2 separate regions of the Homo sapiens genome follow, and region 2 is linked to region 1. The links are contacts of gene promoters, found by promoter capture Hi-C in blood cells and fetal thymus (Javierre and others, 2016). All regions are on one chromosome and are shown on one strand. The core of a region is centred on a gene start or on the middle of the fragment in contact, and the rest is flanking DNA. Distances in the headings are between cores, read along the strand shown. Region 1 holds the start of TMEM154 (transmembrane protein 154). Region 2 has its middle 8.9 kb from the start of SH3D19-AS1.

Region 1 (6,368 bases), core at 3,015-5,514:
CTAATCTACCCTCGGACCAGTAGTGCAGAGTTCCTGTCTCTCCATATCTTTGCCAACATTTGAGAGTGGTACAAACTACATACGAATAGGCAAGCTGCAGTTTGCATTGCTTCATTACAGAATTGAGCCCATCCCAGTCAATATCTTCCCTCTTATGGTTTCCTGGGATTCCAAATTTCAGACACAGAAGGACTTTAAAGCTCATCCTCTCTGTCTGTTTTTTGGGGGAGTCCCTTAGAGTATTTGGTCGTAATGGCCAGTTCTCAGTAGGGCTCTCCCACAGTGACTGCCTGACATAAGGCTGTTCTTCTCCTCGCTGGTTCCCACACCCTGAAGCCTCTTACCCAGTGACTTCAACATTCTGTTTTTCCTGCTTCTAGTCTTAAATCCCCAGATTCTCTTGTGCTCACTCTGCACCTCTTTCAGCCCCTCCCTTCCTCCTCAGCAGTCTGAGTTTTAACCCAACTCTCATCATTCCTCTTCCTCTCAGCCAGTCTCTGACCCAGTGCAAACAAATGCAGCTCTATAATTGACATGCAGCCACCGCAAAGCCTAGCCAAGAGTTCTGTGCTGCACCTACAGCTGGAAAGGTTCAACAACCACAGTTTTCTAAACCCAAAACTAAACGAGTAGCCTGGCAGAGCTTGGAAACCCAGAGGTAGTATGGAGTATGGTTAGAGAATGGACTCCTGAGGCAGAATCTTACTTAGATTCACTAATTAGCTGTGTGACCTTGGGCAAGTCACTTAGCCTCTCTGTGCCTCAGTTTTCTCAAATGTAAAAACAGGGATAATAGTGCCCACCTTATAAGGTTGTTCTGAGAATTAAATGAGTTAGTGAATGTAGCATTTAGAATAGTGCCTGACCTATAATGAGTTCTATATATGTTAGCTACTATTGTTATTAATACTTGAAATTGGGACTGTCCCAGGAAACAGCAGATGTCAGCCGTGTTCATTAAAATAAGATATGAGATACCACAGTGTCAGAATGTGTAGCCTTACTTACATAGCTAGTATTTTCTACTATTCTTTCTCTCCTTGTCAAGATTCATCCAATACTTATATAATTCTTATTCTTCTGAACCAGCCCAGAAAATCTCCCATTCCTCTCTGTTTGGCCACCAAAACAGTCACAGCATCCTTGTTTCTGCCTCATGGCCTTCAGCTCTCCCTTCTGCAACAATTCTGCTTTTAGCAACTAACAAATCCCATGCTTTTGGTATTTAGGAAATTGCTTTTGGTTTTCTGATAGTATTAAGCTGACACTGACAGGGCATAAAGAACAGAGACGGGGACACCCCTGCCCCACTTTACTCCATGAGCAGAACATCTCCTTGAGTTTGAACTTTCTTAGGATCCTACACTGGCCAAGGCACCTAGGCCCAAGCTTTCCTTTAACTATGCTCACCCATTCCATTATAGTCCCAGAAAAGCTGCTTTCTTATTTCTCTCCTGGTGACTTCCAAGTGAATTATTTCTCTTGGGGTAGAACTCAATTCTATGTCAGGCTATCTATCTCTAAAAAGAGAAGAGGTCGCTGACTCAGAGGTAACAGTGCTGGTCTCATGCAACTGCAGATATTATCTCATGTTGCCTGCTCGTTGTTAATAAAGGCTTAATTTGAGATACATCTCAGAGTATACTCACAAACAGTGTCAGGCCCTTCAGTAGGTTGGATTCATCTAACAAACATCCCCAGGTATTTTTTGAAGAATTCAAGGAAATATACCTGTGACACCTAGAAAGTAACTCATATCCTGAAGCCTTAGGCACTATTAGCTAAAAGTAGTGTACATTAATTAATTTTAAAAATCTTTAATTTAAAATCACCTTTTCCATGATGAATCATCTCAAAGTCATAGCTTTTATTCAACAGCTTTTTGCAAGTGGGCATTTTTCAGACATTGGGAATCCCAGCAGGGCCCAATTAGCATGTTGGATTATTTAGGTAATCCCTGCACTCTACTGAAATGCAACTTTTCATCTTTGACTTCTCTTTACATTCCAACACTACCTGTTTTCAGGAGCTATCAGTTTTTTTTGTAATCAGCCTCATATCCATTCTAGGGATGATTTTCATATTTATCAACAATTATTTTCTCATTTATGCTGAGCCCTTACAGGATTTTGGAAAGTCAAAGGTGAACTACAGAGGATTTTCCCTGGAGCTGTTCACAGCCAGTTGGGAGGCATGGACACAATTATGGTTCAAAGTGATTAGCAGAAGTTTAGGTCTATCGGGGCACAGCAGCAGGTACGAGTAGAGCTCCAGGGAAGGGGCAGAGAAAGGAGACATCAAGGAGGAGATCACATTTAGTTTGATACTTTTAAGGTGATACAAGAATTTGCTAGGTAGGAAAAAGAATGTATTCATTATAGGCAAGAGCCACGGAGGGGGACGACAACTGGAAGGAGGTGCCACTGGGAAGGAGGTTGCAGTGAGAGTCTAAGGGGCAAAAATGAGGAACAAGTGAAGGGGCATAAATGAGGGGTCCTTAAGGGGGAAGATGTGCACGATCAGATTCAGGTGTCAGAAAGGCAACTTTAACCAAGTCTCTTCAGATTCTCTTTTTGCATCTCCTGAATTGCAGACACTAGGACTCAATCATTTTTTAGAAGCTAAAAAAAAAGTTCAGGCAAGATGAATTAGTATTAAGGGAGTGTTTGAGGCACCTGTGGCAGTGTTGTGCAATAGAAGAGGTGGAAGGAGGATGGCTAGGCTTTTCTTCCCTGATGTCCTACTACGAAAGGTTCCAGAGCTCTTGGCAGAGACAGTGATTGGTTCCGGGGCGGCGGTGGGGGGAGGGGGGCAGTGGTGGTGGGGGGTGGAGGAGCTCAAAGAACTCTGGAGTAGAAGCCAGAAGAGCTGACTAGCAGCAAGACCCAGACATCTCCCTTCTTCCACCTCTGTTTCTTCACCTGTGTGCCCAATATGGTTTGAGCTGCATCATCTTCAAGTTCCCTTCCAGCTCCAAAACACTGGGCATAAAACAACACATCAACTTCCAAACCCACTCTGAACACTAAACTCAATTTAACCAGACATCTTTTCAGCTGGAATGATTTGCCTTCCACTTTGTTTTCTACCTCAGATGCCTGGGGGACCACATGGAGAACACCCAGGGGAAGAGAAATTGATGGAGTGGGGTGGCTGGGTGCTGGCTGCTGACCTCCAGGAAGTTGTCACATCTGTTAGGTTGGGGCTGATGTCCCTCATTCTATCTAAAGAACTGTAGCTTGAGAACTTTCCTTTTGCTTGGTAAATACTGCCCTACACTAGAAGCAGTCGGTGTTCATTGACAGAAACAATGGGCAGCCAGTGTATTTGCCCAAAGGCAAGTCAACAAGAGAGGCAGCTGAAGGTGCTTGTGCTTGTTGTAGCAACTGGCAAGGGTGTAAATCAGTTGTTGCTTTTAGCCCATAATAATGAGATTCAATATTGTTTTTTCCAATACCTTTGATTGGTTCCAATCATATTACTTTTTCAAACAAATCTTCATTAGTAACAATCAATGCAAAAAAAAAATCTGTAAAAGTAACAAGGTGCAATAAAAGTAGATGAAAGACCTTACTTGATGTGTTAGAGGGCTACCCTCTAACACATAGCTCTTTGGTAGCTCTTCGGATAATTTCCCGTTTCCTTTTTTTTTTTTTAAGTTTATGTCGTTTCTTTAGTATGCTTTCTAGTAGTAAATTTTCACACCCCAGTTTTTCCAGGAGATTTTGGAATCAGCAGACTTCTCAGCCCACACCATAAAAAGCAAATTAATCATGTCTCTGTTTCAGCCAATTGAAGCTTTTGTTTTTTTTTACATAAACTGCCAAAAAGTTTATGGTTTTCTTAATATGCCCATTAAAGCTGGTAAATTACAGGGACGCACACTTCCTGGAAGACAAAGACTGAAAGAGGGTTAAATGAAGTGAGAGCTGTAGCCAGTTTAGACAGCTGCAGCGAAAGCGAAGTCCCCTCTCCATCCCACCCCCCAAAAAAAGGAGTTCTAATTTTCTCCACTTCTTTCACAGAAAGGATTAGATTTTCTGGGTGTCACCCTCCCCGGCAGAGTTCTGTAGCCTCGGGCACCCTACCAGCTTTTGCGATCCTCCTTCCCAGGAGTAGGAAGTGGAGGCGGCTTACCCCGGCCGACGGGAACGAGCGCGATCACCAGGGCGAAGACTAGGGCTGCGCGGGGAGCCTGCATGTCCGCTCGCCTCGGCAGAGGCGCGCTCAGGATGCTGCGCCGGGCTGCAGCCTCTCTGAAACGTGAACATTTCCTGTTTCCTGCTTGTTTGGGTCGGTGCTGACTTGAAGGAGAGGTGTGTGCCTGTTTTTTAGGAAGTGATGTAATTCTGCAGGAGCCTGTCAGACCAGCAAGGATTGCAAAAGAGAAGTTGCTGTTGAAGCACTGGTTCTATTATCACGCCTCTCCAGCCCTTTGGAGTCCCGGCCTCCAGCTTTTGAAACCGTCCCCGGGGCAACAGAGTCCCTTGCTCAGATGTCGTTCGGTATCTGGGACTGGGAGGGGTCCTGGACCACACGCATTCTCACTCTGTGATTTTGCTTATCCCCCAGGTGAGGCTCCGGGGCTGCCTAGACCCTAGGAAGAAGCTGTCCTGTAGAACTTTCTGCCCTGATGGAAATGTTCCAAGTCTGCGCCGTCTGATACAGTATCAGCCACATTGGCCACTGAGCATTTGAACTGAGGCTAGTGCTGATGGAATTTAAATTTTATTGAATTTTTATAAAATTTTAATAACTCCAAGTGGCTAGTGGCTGCTGTGTTGGATAGCGCAGGCCCAGACAGCAGGGACAACTGCATCATCAGAAAACTGCCAGACCACTTCTCTCCGCCAGGTCCATTCTCCTTTCTCCACTCTGGAATGCCCTCCTCCCACCAAGGCCCACGCCAGATGGAGGTGGATGCCACACCCACACCTTAAGGTTATGTTCTGCTTCCCCAGAGAGAAATGATCTTTTCAAGGTCCATTTCCAAAGGAGAATATGCTCTGAGGGTGGAGGTAGGGGTGAATCTGCATCTCACCTTCCTTCCTTCTTACTTGACAATCAAGTTCTCAGACAACAAACAAAACAGGACAGAAACGAAATAGAATAATGGTAGAAATCCTATCCAATCGAAACAATACAGAAAGGTTGTGTCTAGTATACAGTGGAGATTAGTGTGTGTTGGGTGTTCTATTGGAGGTCCTTCCCTTGGTTTAGGTTTAGGGCCTAAGCATTCAGAATGCAGTTTCATAATCGTGGTGCCAAGAGAGACAGACAGATGGAGAGAGGGGTAGTGTTGAGGCATCAGACACATCTCATCTCTAAACCTTTCCCTGCAGATCACCATCTGAGTCATGACTTCCCGTCGTTTGTCTTCAGTGATCTGGTTGGTGCAAACGTATGAGGTGACTGGAATTCCTTAGCCCCTGACATAGCTGTTAATTTTTCTTTAATGCATTGCTGCTTTTCAATGTCATTAGTCACTGTTTATCTCAGTTATTATTCACAAGAAATAGGTTGGTGATTCATGTAAGGATCAGTTTGTTAATGGATTTACAGTATGCACTTTAATGTTTTAAACTGGCAATTAAGTCAATTCTTGATAAAATATGCTTTTTGCACCACAGGTGACAATACAGAACAAACAGCAGGAGAAAATAGACGTGCTCAAAACTGGGTGATTGATTTGAAAACAACAGAGAAAGAACTATTAATTAAACACTTGCTGAGCATGTGAATAGATCACGGGCTCCAAGACCTGCTGGTACTGAGTTGGGGTGGCAATTATTCCTGTACAAGCACGTGTTTCTGCAGCTGTGACACACACGTGCAAGAAAGCAGGCCCAGGGCTTGGGAGTTCTCTCCATTTTACCATTTATGCCCTATTAAAATATTATTAAATGTTATTAAAACATTGTTGAATCCCAGGCTGGAGGCAAATGTTTGTCAAGGGCAAGGTTGTCAGCCTTCGTTTCTTTCATCTTAAACTTCAGCTCCCTGTGGAAGCTTTTGCAGTCAGGTGTCTGTGGATTGGACCACAGACTGTCTTATTCTGTGGACCTCTGCTGAGCCCCATGACATGGCCAAACAGTTCATTACTGTTTCAACAAGTGCACTATGCATTGCTTCTGAGCAGTGCAACACTAAATCAGAGTGAGGTACAAAATAAACTGGAGCTGCAGAGAAATCCTGCCCAACCATGTAATTTTCTTTTGACCCCTGTGCTCTCTAAGACCCTTAGCATGATTAAGCTGATCTTAGGGGGAAGAAAATTACCATGATTGATCAGAAAATGGTAGCACCTCAATGATCTCTTTGCTGCAGTTAAAATCCCAGGGAGGCTGTGTGGTAGGTAAAGGGCTATT
Region 2 (7,328 bases), core at 3,661-6,160, 1.6 Mb before region 1:
CTATTTTGCACTGCTAAATGTGAGACTGATGTGTACATGCTTGTGCACTTCATGTATTCAGAGGAGGTTCTCCCATTCAGGGCACTGCTGTATTTAGAAAAGTGTTAATGGAACAAACTCCTCTGCCATTTGCCGTGTGTGTGTGTGTGTGTGTGTGTGTCAGTATTTAAACACAAGTGTTTCTACTCTGACGGCCACAGTTTTCACATGAGAGCGAGGATGCTGTCCAGTTGTTTGACAACTCAGAATTCTCAATCTCATACCTTGACTGTGGTTTCATCACACCTCCACCAACAGGAGTGTTTGATAAAACTCCAAAACAATTCAGGAGCCTGTTCACCAAGTAGTTTCTTGGGACTGTGTGGATGGATTCACAGTGCTTAATCCCTCTGGCAGTCAAGGACAAACTGCTATCTCTTTAACCTTTTGCTGCTTCTAGGCTTATTGGAGGGCTTTGGGTATTGGAGACCGCATGCCTCACTAAACAAGCCTTGCTGATAAAAAACAGTGTGTTCTGGGATGTAGCAGCCTTAGGATCATCTTGGTTTTTCATGAAGTGGTGGTAGAAACTCCTGGAAAACTTTATCTAGCACTCCACTGCGTGAAGCGTACTTGCACCTGTTGGGTCAATGGGGTCCTTACTTCACCTAAGTCTCCTAAATGATTGGGCCTGATTCACTGATGGCTCTGCAGAATGGAAAGCTGGTAGTATCCATTGTGTTGCTGTTGCAATCCAACCTCAGTGCTAGCCATGCAACTAAAGTGAATGAAGTCCCTGCTCAGTGGGCGGAACTCAGTTCTCATAGCCAATACTGCTTTTGATTAACCTTGCCCTATTTTAAAAATTATTATTTTTAGAGTTAGGGTCTTGTGCTGTTGCCCAGGTTGGAGTGCAGTGGTGTGATCACAGCTCACTGCAGTCTCAACCTCCTGGACTCAGGGATCCTCCTACCTCAATCTCCTGAGTAGCTGGGGCTACAGGTGTGTGTCCCCATGACCTGCTTTTTAAAATTTTTGTAGAGATGGGCATCTCGCTATGTTGCCCAGGCTGGTCTTGAACTCTTGTACTCAAGTGATTCTCCTGCCTCAGCCTCCCAAAGTTGAGATTACAGGTGTGAGCCACCACACTAGTTTTTGCTGACTTGGGCTGTTACTAATGGCCTAGACATCTGGTCTGCCAGTTGAAAGGCAGACTAAAGACATCTCTTTTAAGGCTATAAACTATGAAAATAAATTGTGGCTGCCAACCAGAACATCTGGGTCATTCATGTAGATGACTACAGTTAAGGGCTGATAACACCTGTGACTGATAACACCTAGTGGAATCAAGCTGCTGATGAAGCCAGCATCACCTGGATTGTCCTCACAATGGCAACACATCCACCATGGCGGACTAGGCACCCAGTAAAGAACTCTTTCTCATGCATGCCAGTCTTGGTGACCCCTGCTAAAGTTATCCCATTTGTCTGGAGGTAAATAAGGCCATACTATACAGGACATGGGCCCGCTTGCTCCTAACTGACTGACTACACTGGCCATTTGACCTCCTGTTAGGGCAACTCATGGCGGAGGGGCTGACTGCTGTTAAGACCTTCTTAGGCTATGACGTTGCTGTTTCGGTCTGACCAACTGACTTTGACCATACAATTACAGCTCTTGAAACTAATGTGTCATATTAAGACCCAGGCTGGTCTTAAAACTCCTGGCTCAAGCGATCCTTCTGCCTCAGCCTCCCAGAGTGCTGGGATTACAGGTGTGAACCACCATGCCTAGCTGGAAGGGAAATAATTAATGCACAATTTGTTCCCTAGGTCAGTTTCTCAACCTTGGCACTATTAATATTTTAGGCCAGATAATTCGTTGTTTAGCAGTTACACTGGCCTCTACCCACTAGATGCCAGTAGCACCTTCCCTCTAGTTGTGACAAATAAAAATGGCTCAGACATTGCCAAATGTCCCCTGGAGGGCAAAACTGCCCCCAGCTGGAACCACTGCCCTTGATTCAAAACCACTACCTGAATCAAGTGGCAGCTGCAGCTAACAGTCTGACCTGCTGCTGGGCTTGTCCAGACCACCATGAAATGTGCTATGAAAACGAAAATCTCTCATAAACATGGTCAGTCCTGCACTGTTCTGCTGTGCCTGATACCATCAACAACAGCACCCAAATTCGAATGTATACAGACATCAGGACCAACACAACCTTGATTCAATCTGACTGATCATATGCTTTTGACGCCTGAGTGGTCTTGGGTAATACCGTATATGGCAACCGAAGCTGCAGCTATTTGGTGACACTGCCCCTGTGACTTAACCAATGTGATGATACAAATCAGGTTTAGCAACGAGTCCTGAACCAAAGTGACTTGTGTCCTTTGGGGTTATATTTTGGTATATAGGGGAAAAATGGGTAGGAGAAAAATGGGTCATGAGATGTCTCCCCATTAAGGACAGAGGTCGCTTTCTGGCCCATCAATTGTCTAATTATTGCAGCGACACCAGAGATTAACAGATCAGTTTAAACTCTGTACAGGTCTTAATGAATAAAATACCCTGGCCCTAGAATACCTCATGGCTGCCTAAAATCAGACCTACTGGTACTCCCTGAGATTATTCACAGTAAGCTGTCTGGGACCCTGGAGAGTAAGACTGAGATCAATACTGCAGGTTGGCTTCATCTGCTGCTTTGAGTCTTGATAATAGACTTAATTAAACGTCATGTGAGACAAACTGAGTGGATTTGGTTCTGGCTTCTGTTGGTTAGCTTAATCGAAGTGGTTGTCAGAGTAGCACACTTGTGTAAAAATTTAAGTTTGGCCAAGAATGTGTCAGGCTGAGGAGTGAATAGTGACAGAGGCAATGTGCTGTATACCCTAAGTGTCTCTGCACATTCTTGCTGAGTATGCCAAGAATACAATCCCTTGACTGTTCTTTACCCTGGCCACTTCTCAGGGCTGTGTTTGCACCCTTGTGAGCAACCTTGAAGGATGAGGTAACGTCTCCCCCAGGAAAAAAAGCAAGCTTGCTTCCATTTGCTATAAAAGTGGTGGATCTCAGTGTTCCTCTCCTGTCACACAACTCACTGTATAATGGGCCCTTTGCATCACCTCCTCGGGATTTGGTGGGGTATGGGAAACTGACACATAAGAACACGAAACTCTGGTTCTCACTTTTGCTATCATGAAGTGTTTTGCTCCTGTCCCAGAAGTCTCATGTCTTCTGCTAACATCCATGAAACCATGCCAGGCTAAATGTTTAGCTTACAAGTTGGGTAAAATGTCAAACACTGCACAGTTCCTGACAATTTCTCCTCCTCAATTATTTGAAGCAAATTTAACTTATCAAATGTAAATATTTCATCATGTATCTCTGAAATGATTTCTTAAAAAGAAATGTAACCAAAATCCTATTAACACAGCTCCAAATTTCAGTAATAATCTTTAGTATCTTTAAATATCCAGTCATACCAATTTAATGAGTCATTAATTCTCTGACGTAACGCTGTGATAGGCAATGCAAGTGTGACAGCTATGAAGGGTAATGAGTTTCCATTTGCTAAGATCATTTAAGAAGTCAAAGTAGGGCTGGGTGCGGTGGCTCACACCTGTAATCCCAGTACTTTGGGAGGGTGAGGCGGGTGGATCACCTGAGGACAGGAGTTCAAGACCAGCCTGGCCAAAGTGGCGAAACTCCATGTCTACTAAAAATACAAAAAATTGGCTGGGCACGGTGGCTCATGCCTATAATCCCAGCACTTTGGGAGGCCAAGGCGGGTGGATCACCTGAGGTCATGAGTTTGAGACCAGCCTGACCAACATGGTGAAATCCTGTCTTTACTAAAAATATAAAAATTAGCTGGGCATGGTGGTGGGCACCTGTAATCCCAGCTACTTGGGAGGCTGAGGCAGGAGAATTGCTTCAACCCAGGAGGCAGAGGTTGCGGTGAGCCAAAATCACACCATTGCACTCCAGCCTGGGTTGACGAGCGAAACTCCATCTCAAAAATAAAAATACAGATACAAAAAACTAGCAAAGCGTGGTGGCGGGCACCTCTAATCCTAGCTACTTCGGAGGCTGAGGCACGAGAATTGCTGGAACCTGGGGGCAGAGGTTGCAGTGAGCCAAGATCGCACCATTGGACTCCAGCCTGGGCAGCAAGGGCAAAACTACGTCTCAGAAAAAAAAAAAAAAAAAGAAGTCAAGGCAGAAAAATTATTGCAGGTGTCAGCTCCTAGAAGTGTATAACATCCATCCCGGCCCTATTATTATTTTTTTGATACATATATGTATATACACGTATATATGTGTATGTATATATATGTGTATATGTGCATGTATATGTAAGTATATATGTGTATATTACCACATATACATTTGTGTATACGTATATGTATATATGTATGTGTATATGTATATACATACACGCATACATACGTATGTGTATATGTATGTATATATTTAAAGTGTGTGTATGTGTATACACATATGTGTATATGTATATATGTGCATACATATGTATAAATGCATGCATGTATACATGTATACGTATATATACATATACACATACGTATGTATACATATGTATGTATACACTGCATATACATACATATGTATGTATACACTATGCATATACATACATATGTATATATACACATGTATGTATATACTATGCATACACATACATATGTATATATACACACGTGTACACACATATACATATGCGTATACATTCATACACACATACATGTATACACACATACATATACACATACACATATATACATATATGTATATATACACACACACACATTTTTTTTTTGAGATGGTGTCACTCTCTGTTGCCCAGACTGCAGTGCAGTGGCATAATCTCAGCTCACTGCAACCTCCATTTCCCAGGTTTGCGCAATTCTCCTGCCTCACCCAGTAGCTGGGATTACAGGCCCACGCCACCATAGCCTGGCTAATTTTTGTATTTTTAGTAGAGACAGGGTTTCACCATGTTGGCCAGGCTGGTTTTGAACTCCTGACCTCAGGTTATCCACCCGCCTTGGCCTCCCAAAGTGCTGAGATTACAGGCGTGAGTCATAGTGCTCAGCCAGAGGCCAATATTTTGGTATTGTTAGTTAATTTTTGTGAAACATAGACAACCAAATATTTCATTTAATTATTGCCTAATTTACAGTACTTGAAGATAAATAATCCATGGTATACATATAATTAGAATTCCTTTAAAAAAATCAGAATATGTCTCAGACTCTGAAATATAAATCTATCAGCTTAACAGTGCTTTGGTTAATCTATTATACTCCAAAATACTAATAACAGTGTTTTGTGTTATATTTTAATGAAAATCTAGATTTATGATTGCTCTACTGTTGCCAAGGGCACAGCCCTACAAGATACAGCTGTACAAGATCTGATGTTCTAAATTTTTGAATATTTTCTATTAAAGAGAAAAAGGAATCCACATTAGTGGATCCATTCATGTTTCAGTTTCTAGGTAACATCAATATAAATTGTCCACATAAAACCAAGAAGCTGACAGGACTTTTCTTCCTGAAGGATAAAACTTCAAGGCTTTAATACATACTGTGTAATTCTTTCTAATCGTTAAGTATTAGAGGCTACAACCACTACAGGCCAATGAAACGGATCAATTCTTCTTGTTTAACTGCTAAAAAAAATGTTATCACTTTGCCATAATAAACGGAAAAAGAACTGGATTGGAAATCCGCAGAGATAGGTTTTACTTTAGGCTCTGCAAGTAACTGTGACTTTAGGCAAATCATTTAACCTCTGCAAGTTGAACTCTGGTCTCCAAGGGCTCTCTTCTGTGGTATAACAGGATGAGCTCGCAATTAAGAGAGCGGCCCCTAGATGGTAGTGTTGTTCTGAGTCAGGCTTTCTATTTTTTTTCCTTCTTTAATTACAGTGAAGTAAAAAGGCACAAGTTAGAAAATGACTTCACGTTAGTTCTGAAAAAAATTCAGTTGGCTGGACAAGGTGGCTCACGCCTGCAAACCCAGCACTTTGAGAGGCCGAGGCGAGAAGACTGCTTGAGCTCAGGAGTTCAACACCAGCCTGGGTAACATGGTGAAACCCCGTCTTTACAAAAAATAAAAAATTAGGCTGGATGCCGGGGCTCACGCCTGTAATCCCAGCACTTTCAGAGGCCGAGGCGGATGGATCACTTGAGGTCAGGAGTTCAAGACCTGTCTGGCCAACATGATGAAACCTGGTCCCTACTAAAAATACAAAAAAATTAGCGGGGCACAGTGGTGCGTGCCCGTAATCCTAGCTACTCAGGAGGCTGAGGCAGGGGAATCACTTGAACCTGAGAGGCAGAGGCTGCAGTGAGCCCAGATTGTGCCATTGCACTCCAGCCTGGGCAACAGAGCAAGACTCCACCTCAAAAAATAAAATGAAAAAAATAATAAATTAGCCAAATATGGTGGCACATGCCTGTAGTCCCAGTTACTCGGGAGGCTGAGGTGGGAGGAACACTTGAGGCCAAGAGTCTAAGGCTGCAGTGAGCCAAGATCATGCCATTGCACTCCAACCTGGGCAACAAAGTGAGACCCTGTCTCTAAAATACAATACAATAAAATAAAATAATAAATTCACTGTGAAGAATTCATTCAATGGCATTCAAAATGACATTGAATCATGAATCATATGGCTCATGTGCATTTGACATTAATTAAAAGAAATAAACCATTAATGATTATACCAAAGTGAATATATCGCCTTATAATTATTAGTCCATACAGTCATCATTATTTTCTCTAGGTATATTTAGGTAAGCTTAAGAAACTGAGTAAAAACTAAGAAATGAATGTTAGGAGTATTGATCTACAATCTTATAGAAAAATTTTTTTTTCAAATGCAAGTTCTACTAATAAATTCTGATAAACGCACTTTCTTTCATTTTGAATATTACAGACTGAATTCAAGACCTGTGATTTATATGAGCACAATGACAGATATATTCCATTACCCTTCTAGCCATGTAAACAAGGGCATCTTTTAAAGAAAAACGCTTTTAGTGTTCAAAGGATAAGAATAATATATTAAATGGCTTCTCTAGGTTTTTTTTCAACTGAGTCGCCTTGCTTGGAAAGGCTTCTCTAGGTTTTTTTTTGTTTTTGAGACGGAGTCTCACTCTGTCGCTTAGGCTGGAGTGCAGTGGCGCGATCTCGGTTCACTGCAAGCTCCGCCTCCTGGCTTCACACCATTCTCCTGCCTCAGCCTCCCGAGTAGCTGGGACTACAGGTGCCCGCCACCACGCCCGGCTAATTTTTTGTATTTTTAGTAGAGACAGGGTTTCA

What was found. Contacts are between HindIII fragments. The CHiCAGO score rates a contact against its expected background, and 5 or more counts as called.
Region 2: a contact is called between a fragment that was not itself captured here and the fragment with the promoter of TMEM154 in region 1, in 1 of 17 cell types (total CD8 T cells). The highest score is 8.4, in total CD8 T cells.

The regions. Positions count from the first base shown.
Region 1 is chr4:152,675,733-152,682,100 of GRCh38, forward strand. It overlaps TMEM154 (transmembrane protein 154), which reads right to left and starts at 4,265. Exons shown (of 7, transcript NM_152680.3): 1 at 4,138-4,265. The coding sequence starts at 4,201. It overlaps LOC105377495 (a long non-coding RNA gene), which reads left to right and starts at 4,353. Exons shown (of 4, transcript XR_939359.3): 1 at 4,353-4,572; 2 at 4,855-4,941; 3 at 5,343-5,408; 4 at 5,631-5,930. RefSeq lists enhancers at 742-831, 3,899-4,728, 4,039-4,348. The HindIII fragment of the contact is 2,211 bases long and covers 3,797-6,007 here.
Region 2 is chr4:151,111,681-151,119,008 of GRCh38, forward strand. No RefSeq gene overlaps it. Among named protein-coding and RNA genes, the nearest start is that of SH3D19-AS1, 8.9 kb to the right of the region's middle. The HindIII fragment of the contact is 3,783 bases long and covers 3,020-6,802 here.